Regions from separate parts of the Homo sapiens genome. Here region 1 is linked to region 2. The links are contacts of gene promoters, found by promoter capture Hi-C in blood cells and fetal thymus (Javierre and others, 2016). All regions are on one chromosome and are shown on one strand. The core of a region is centred on a gene start or on the middle of the fragment in contact, and the rest is flanking DNA. Distances in the headings are between cores, read along the strand shown. Region 1 overlaps LOC100507513 (a long non-coding RNA gene). Region 2 holds the start of SLC39A2 (solute carrier family 39 member 2).

The links. The method cuts DNA at HindIII sites, captures the fragments that hold promoters and counts their contacts. A CHiCAGO score of 5 or more calls a contact.
Region 1: a contact is called between a fragment that was not itself captured here and the fragment with the promoter of SLC39A2 in region 2, in 3 of 17 cell types (M0 macrophages, M2 macrophages and M1 macrophages). The highest score is 9.1, in M0 macrophages.

The regions. Positions count from the first base shown.
Region 1 is chr14:20,870,923-20,874,375 of GRCh38, forward strand. It overlaps LOC100507513 (a long non-coding RNA gene), which reads right to left. Exons shown (of 4, transcript XR_110261.4): 3 at 2,637-3,453. Among named protein-coding and RNA genes, the nearest start is that of RNASE3, 19 kb to the right of the region's middle. RefSeq lists enhancers at 2,870-2,969, 3,080-3,129. The HindIII fragment of the contact is 1,516 bases long and covers 1,348-2,863 here.
Region 2 is chr14:20,997,495-21,000,902 of GRCh38, forward strand. It overlaps SLC39A2 (solute carrier family 39 member 2), which reads left to right and starts at 1,799. Exons shown (of 4, transcript NM_014579.4): 1 at 1,799-2,067; 2 at 2,248-2,378; 3 at 2,622-2,672. The coding sequence starts at 1,953. LOC101929718 (a long non-coding RNA gene) reads right to left here and starts at 1,669. Exons shown (of 4, transcript NR_110139.1): 1 at 1,280-1,669; 2 at 186-320. RefSeq lists an enhancer at 1,858-3,057. The HindIII fragment of the contact is 5,548 bases long and covers 583-3,408 here.

The sequences.
Region 1 (3,453 bases), core at 856-3,355, 130 kb before region 2:
TGGGGTATCATTCTTCAGGATGCAGTGTATTTATTAAATCAGAGGCCTGTAAAGGGTACTGTGTTCCCAATAGGAAGAATACACGGATCCAGGAACCGAGAAGTAGAAGCAGGAGTAGCTCCACTTACCATCTCTCTGATTGACCCACTCAGATATGTTGTGCTTTCATTTCTGTAACTCTAGGCTCTGCAGGGTCAAAGGTCCAGGTCCCCAAAGAAGATGCACCCTTGCCAACTTACACAGAAAGGTCTCATTGAACTGCAAGCTACAGCTTTTCCCAGGACACTTTGGATTTCTCGTGTCTAGGGACCAGCAGACGTGAAGAGGAGTTGCCATACTGTCAAGGCTAAGTAACCTTGATTAGCAGGAGGGAGGTAGGGCTGCTTTTACCCAATAGAGGCAGAAAAGAATTTATGTAGAACCCAAGTAATCTACTTGGGTGCTTTCTGTTACTCCCATGCTCCATTTTAACTGTGAATGTAAGTGTGTAGCCACCTCAGCCTGAGAAAAATATGATTACCAAGGGCTTAACCCTCAGAACTGGTGAGAGGGTAAATAAGAATAAGCAACTAAGACCTAAGGGTAAAGGGAGATTAGAATACATAGTAAAGGAAGGAGTGGATGGGTGCTAGTTACAGCCCCAAGATCTGCGGCATTGACAGTGACTACAGTTTGTTTGTCCACAGTAAACTTCCTCTTAAGTTTCCCTTCAGGAACAGAGACTGGTAGGAAGCCTGGAGGAGTTGTCTCTTGAACCTGTCTGGGGAAGCAGATCTGTGTGGCTCAAGAGGTGGACCTGGCCAGGCACGGTGGCTCACACCTGTAATCCCAGCACTTTGGGAGGCTGAGGAGGGCAGATCACCTGAGGTAAGGAATTCAAGACCAGCCTGGCCAACATGGTGAAACCCTGTCTCTACTAAAAATACAAAAATTAGCTGGGTGTGGTGGCGCATGCCTGTAATCCCAGCTACTCAGGAGGCTGAGGAAGGAGAGTTGCTTGAACCCAGGAACCGAAGGTTGCAGTGAACCGAGATTGTGCCACTGCACTCCAGCCTGGGTGACTGAGTGAGACTCAATCTCAAAAAAAAAGACGGACCCATTCTAAAAAAGTTTCTACATGAGTTTATAAGTACTCGCTTCTGCATGTCTGAAAAAATCTCTGTCTAATAAGAGAGACACACCTCAAAAGTTTTATCAATAAAAAAGGTACAAAAAAGTCAGAATAAAAATAGGACATAAAATCAATGCTATAAATATTAAACAGATTATGAATAACTTTGTGCTAATATATTTGGGAACTTTAGACGAAATGGATAAATTCCTACGTGGGAAAAAACAATCTACCAAAGCTTTCTCAAGAAGAAATGGAAAAGTTAGCATCTCTTTAACCATTAAGGAAATTGAAACAGAAGTTTAAAATAGTTTGAGGCTAAGCCTGGTGGTGTGTACCTGTAGACCCAGCTACTCTGGAGGCTGAGGCAGCAGGATTATTCGAGATCAGGAGTTCAAGCCCAGGAGTTTGAGGCACCTGAGACCGAGTGTTCAAGGATCAGTTGAGACCAGTAATTCGAGGTATGCTCTGTGATTGCACCTGTGAATAGCCACTGCACACTAGCCTGGGCAACATAGGAAGACCCATCTCCAAAAAAAAAAAAAAAGGAAAAGAAAAAAGAAAAAGCAGTCTCAAAGAAAATAAGAAAATATCAGGACCAAACAGCCTTACATGTGAGTTCTACCAAGTATTAAAATAACATATAATTCCAGTTACAAAATAAAGAAGGACTACTCCCCAATTCATTTCTGGAAGCTAACATATAACCTAGATACCAAAATTAAACAAGGCAATACAAAAAATTACAGACCAATCTCATTCGTGAACATAAATGCAAAAAAAATTTAACAAAATATTAGCAAATTAAATTTAGTCATATATAAAAAAGATTATATCACATAACCAAAATGGGTTTATCCCAGGAATACAAGGTTGGTTTAGTATTCTAAAATCAACTAATCTAATTCACCCCATTAACTGATTAAAGAAATATGCTGTATAATCCCATCATTCAACGAAATTCCCAATCCATTCAAGAGACATAAACAGGAGCAGAAGGGAAGAAACTTTTCTAATCTAAAAATGGGCATCTACAAAAGATCCACAGCAACAACCAGACCTACCAAAATGGCCCCTTAAAGATTTCTTGAAGGCACTTTTATAGCGAGCATTAGGCTAAGTGCTGAATGTCAAGAACAAAGGCAAAACAGCTATACCTCCTGGCATCGGGGGAAGGAATGAAAGTAATAGTATCCAGTTTTGTCACTGGATTATTCCAAAAGGGTAAAATCCTCACGCAACTCTGTTCCACAGGCACCGGGCTAGTCAGTTAATGGACGGCTGCCCTAGAGTCAAGTGCCCTCCTTTGCTTCAAAACCTTGTCACCATTCTGCTGGAGTCACAGGGTAGAGAATATGAACACCTTTGGATGCTTCCTCTCGTGGATAAAATAACCTCCTTCAGAAGGGGATCGGTGATGTAATGGATTCCATGAAAGAAATAAACTCTTCTCCAGCGCAGCTGAACTGTAAAGCTCATAACACAAGTAGGTCCTCAGTGCATATTCACTTCCTTTCCTTCTTACCTGAGGTGCTGCAGTGTGAATCTGAAGGTGGCAGGTTCAACGTTAAAGTGCTGCAGTGTATGAAAGTTATGGTAGACTCAGAAATCTGTTCTTCAACAGTTAGACTGTATTTATGCTGGCTGGATTTTGTTTATTCACCTATTATCGTCTACCCGTGTCAGCAACCAAGAAACCTGCAGCCTGTCTCAAAGGAAACCAAGAAAGAAGTTTTGGACTCTTGTGCAGGAAGCTTGTGGCGCGGCGCCCCCTGCCGACCAATACGACGGCCACGGGAACTGGGAGACCACGAAGGCTCTGGGCCTGCGGAGTTGCCCAAGCTCCTCCGGCTTCTCCGGAAACGGCTTTTTCCGGTGACACCCCTGGAGCCACAGTGATTTGTTTCCCTAAAGGAAGCGGTTTCCCGCCAGGGTATCGTCCCTAATACCCTCCGAAGGAGCCCATTGAGGAGAAAGGCATAGAATGTCCCGCAGAAGGCAGAAGGACCCTATGATCCAGGAAACCTAGGGCCAGCCATCAGGAGGTTTTATGAGAGCAGCTGGTGGGAAGATCAGCCCCAGGAGAAGGGGATTGTCTAGCAGCTTGGTTGGAGCAAGTCTTTTCCCGAGTATTATTTCCGTAATTCAGGCTCCCTCCCACCAACCCTCCACTGCAGCCTTATCCTCCACCAAAAGCCCTGACACTGTGGCAGGGGTAGGGCACATGGGGTTGGTGGGGAACAGGCTGTAAGAAAGACGCAGGAGCCTGCGTGCAAAGGACGAAGCATTTACAAAGAAGACCTTGACAGTGCTGCACAGATTTGAAGGCGTAGGGTGCAAGT
Region 2 (3,408 bases), core at 549-3,048:
GATAAGGAATCGGGGGAAACTGGTGCCTGAGTACGAAAGCCAGAATACAAAAAAAGCAAGCCCTTTAAAGCCCCACCTATACTTTCTCTACCTCAGATCTAGCTGAGTGATAAAAGCATTCCTGCACATACAACCCATCCCAGGACCAACTTAAGATTAAGAAACTTCTGTCTGCAAGTACTCACTCACTATGGTGGGATCAGCTGCAAAGCGAACTGTCCCATGCTCATGTTGATGGTTTTCTAGATACTGCCAACATGTTAGCTCTTTCTGGTGCCGATGAATTTCAAACGCGAACAGACACCCTTGATGTGGGTTTGCTAAGAAAATAGAAGAACAGGAAGAAAAGTTGCCAGGTTCAGACATCCCAGGGAAAAAGAAGCGTAAACAGCATTAGCAATCAGTGACTGATGATAATGCTGCAATAATGGGAATGGTTTTATTTCTAAATCAAATCGTTTATTGCTTTGTTTCTAAAAAACAAAAAAAAAACTTCTACCTGCAGACCCCTAGTTTAGATTAATTAGGAAACATTCCCGCAGGTAGTCATAGAGCTTGAATTGTATATAAAAGCTAAAGAAAAGCTTGTAACTTTGAGTTGGTCTGGTGTGCTACTCCGACCTCCCTGTAATCAGTTGCAGAAATAAACTCCCGTCTTTCCCAGTCTGTCTGTCTGCATCTCATTACCGGACCACAAGAACAAGCAGCAGGACCAGTAACACTGTAAGAATCATCCAGTAACACTGTAAGAATACTGCTTCTACCAGAGGCCAGGACTTCCCTAGGAAAATAATCTGGAGTAGCAAGGAAAGCTGCCTCCAGAGCTCTGAGAACTGGCTCAACAGGTCTCAGGGTTGTTATGTGGGCCACCTGAATAGGGGAATCAGCAGCTGCCTGGCCTCTTGTACTAACGCCTTCCCTTCTGTCTTTCCCAGGGTCCCTCAGCTACCCTAGAGTATGTATGGGAAATGCCCCAGACATTTCCATCAAGAGTGATTCCCATCAGAACTGAATCTTCTACCCCCACCTCTCTATATCCAGGTAGAATCCTCCCATTCACTCAGTTCATTTCTGTTTTCCCCTAAGCCTTGCTGTTTCAGGGCTAGAGCAGCTTCCTTTGTCTTAAACCTTAAATGTCTTTTTTTCCACAGTTCTTACCAGGAAACAGGCACAGTTAGAAGTTGTAACAGTATAAATGTTGTAATACCAGACATCTCAACTCATTCCTCTCAAAACTGATCCCAATCAAAAGAGAAAGAAAAAAAACAAATCAACTTACCACTAGACATTTCCATGCCTGGAGCTATTTTTCTGGGGTTACAGGAAAGGGTAGTTCCCTCATGTGGGTACTAGTTCCCACAGAGTAGCACCAGCACCACCTCTCAGCCCCACCTCTTTACCTCCAGGTGGCCCCAAATCTCTGAAAGCGGGTGGTTCAAGTATCAGCATTGCAACCTATAAGACTTGGGATGAGGTGGAGAGGGTATGGAAGGCTTAGATCAAACGTCCTGAGTGAGACAGGACCAGATTGTCCCCAGTACAAAATAGCTGGGAAGCAGCTACCATAGACTTTCCTATTTTGGATTAGACCAACCCCAAGCACATGAACTAAGACTATCCGTAGCTCTTGGATTAGTCATGCCATTGAAGAGGAGGAGAAGACGCCACTGGGCTGTGCCTGGCAGGGAGTCTGGAGTTTCTGGTTTCCAAGCTCAGGAAGGCGTGAACCAGGGGAGGGGCCTCCATGCAGGGGGAGGGCTAGAAGCTGGGGCAGGATCTGTCAGCTCTGCAATGCTGCAGAAGCAGAAGCAACACAGAAAGAAGATACCAACAGCCTCCTGAAACTCACGAGAGTGGACACTCCAGTGTTGACCACCTAAGATACCACTCCTGCTCCAAAGATTACAGCTCCCTTGTCATTCTGACTCCTGGGCTTACCCTACACCCCAGAGATGGAGCAACTACTAGGAATAAAACTTGGCTGCCTGTTTGCCCTGTTGGCTCTCACTCTGGGCTGTGGCCTTACTCCCATCTGCTTCAAATGGTTCCAGATTGATGCAGCCAGAGGTATAGCCCTACCCCATCTTTGTTCCATAGCCTGAGTCTCACCTCAACCCTGTCCTGATACCTTGCTCTGATTCTCTCACCATCCCCAACCTTGGGATATTGAGTGCTGCCTGCTGCTCTTTACTCACCTTTGTCTGTCTCCTCAGTGTCAAGTGGGTTGTAACTTCTGCTTTTTATTAGGTCATCACCGGCTAGTCCTCAGACTCCTGGGCTGTATTTCTGCTGGTGTTTTCCTGGGAGCAGGGTTCATGCATATGACTGCTGAAGCCCTGGAGGAAATTGAATCACAGATTCAGAAGTTCATGGTGCAGGTGAGAGCAGAGATTTCAAGCCGCAGGTCTATGAGGCCAAAATGATAAACAGGACAAAGGGAAGAGAGCGGGAAAGTGATGGAGCCAAGGACATGGGTGGAACGACAAGGAAAATGACAGCTCTTGTGTGGGATGGTGAAAGCAAGTCAGATTAGGCTTTAAGGAAAACAGAATTGCTGAAGGGACAGCACAGGAAGCTGTGCTGCTCCATCCCACATCTAATTTCTGCTGCTTTCTTCTTAGAACAGATCAGCAAGTGAGAGAAATTCTTCTGGTGATGCTGATTCAGCTCATGTAAGTACCTCCCACCATCCCCTATCTGGAGAGTGAGGAGAACCAGAGAGGCCTTTCATATCCAGACCCTTTTGAGAGGAATACATGAGGAGTACCAAGAATCCCTTCTGCTCCCTAGCTCAGACATCGTAGAGGAAAAGAGGAGCAAATCCAATCCTTTTGAGTTTATAGAATGCCAGGGAAAGCCCTTGTTTTACTCTTTCATTCTTTCCCTGGATCCTCTGATATACCTCACATCATTTGCCCATGTTTTTAACTCTATTGAGATTCTGTCCCTTAGCCCCTCTGGCAGTCTTTTGTTGTTGTTGTTTTTCGTTTGTTTGTTGAGATGAAATCTCTCTGTCGCCCAGACTGGAGTACAGTGGCACAATCTCGGCTCACTGCAACCTCTGCCTTCCGAGTTCTAGTGATTTTCCTGCCTCAGCCTCCTGAGTAGCTGGGATTACAGGCACGTGCCACCACACCTGGCTAGTTTTTGTATTTTTAGTAGAGACGGGGTTTCATCATGTTGGCCAGGCTGGTCTCAATCTCCTGACCTCAAGTGATCTGCCCACTTCAGTCTCCCAAAGTGCTAGGATTACAGGCATGAGCCACTGTGTCCGGCCCACTCTGGCATTCTTGTTGTTGCATGGCCATGTCTACTCTTGGCTTCATTTCCCCTACCCTTTTTTGTGTTCTGTTACCACATTTTCTCATTCTCTTCAATCTCCCAATTCCATGTCCATCCAATGTATTG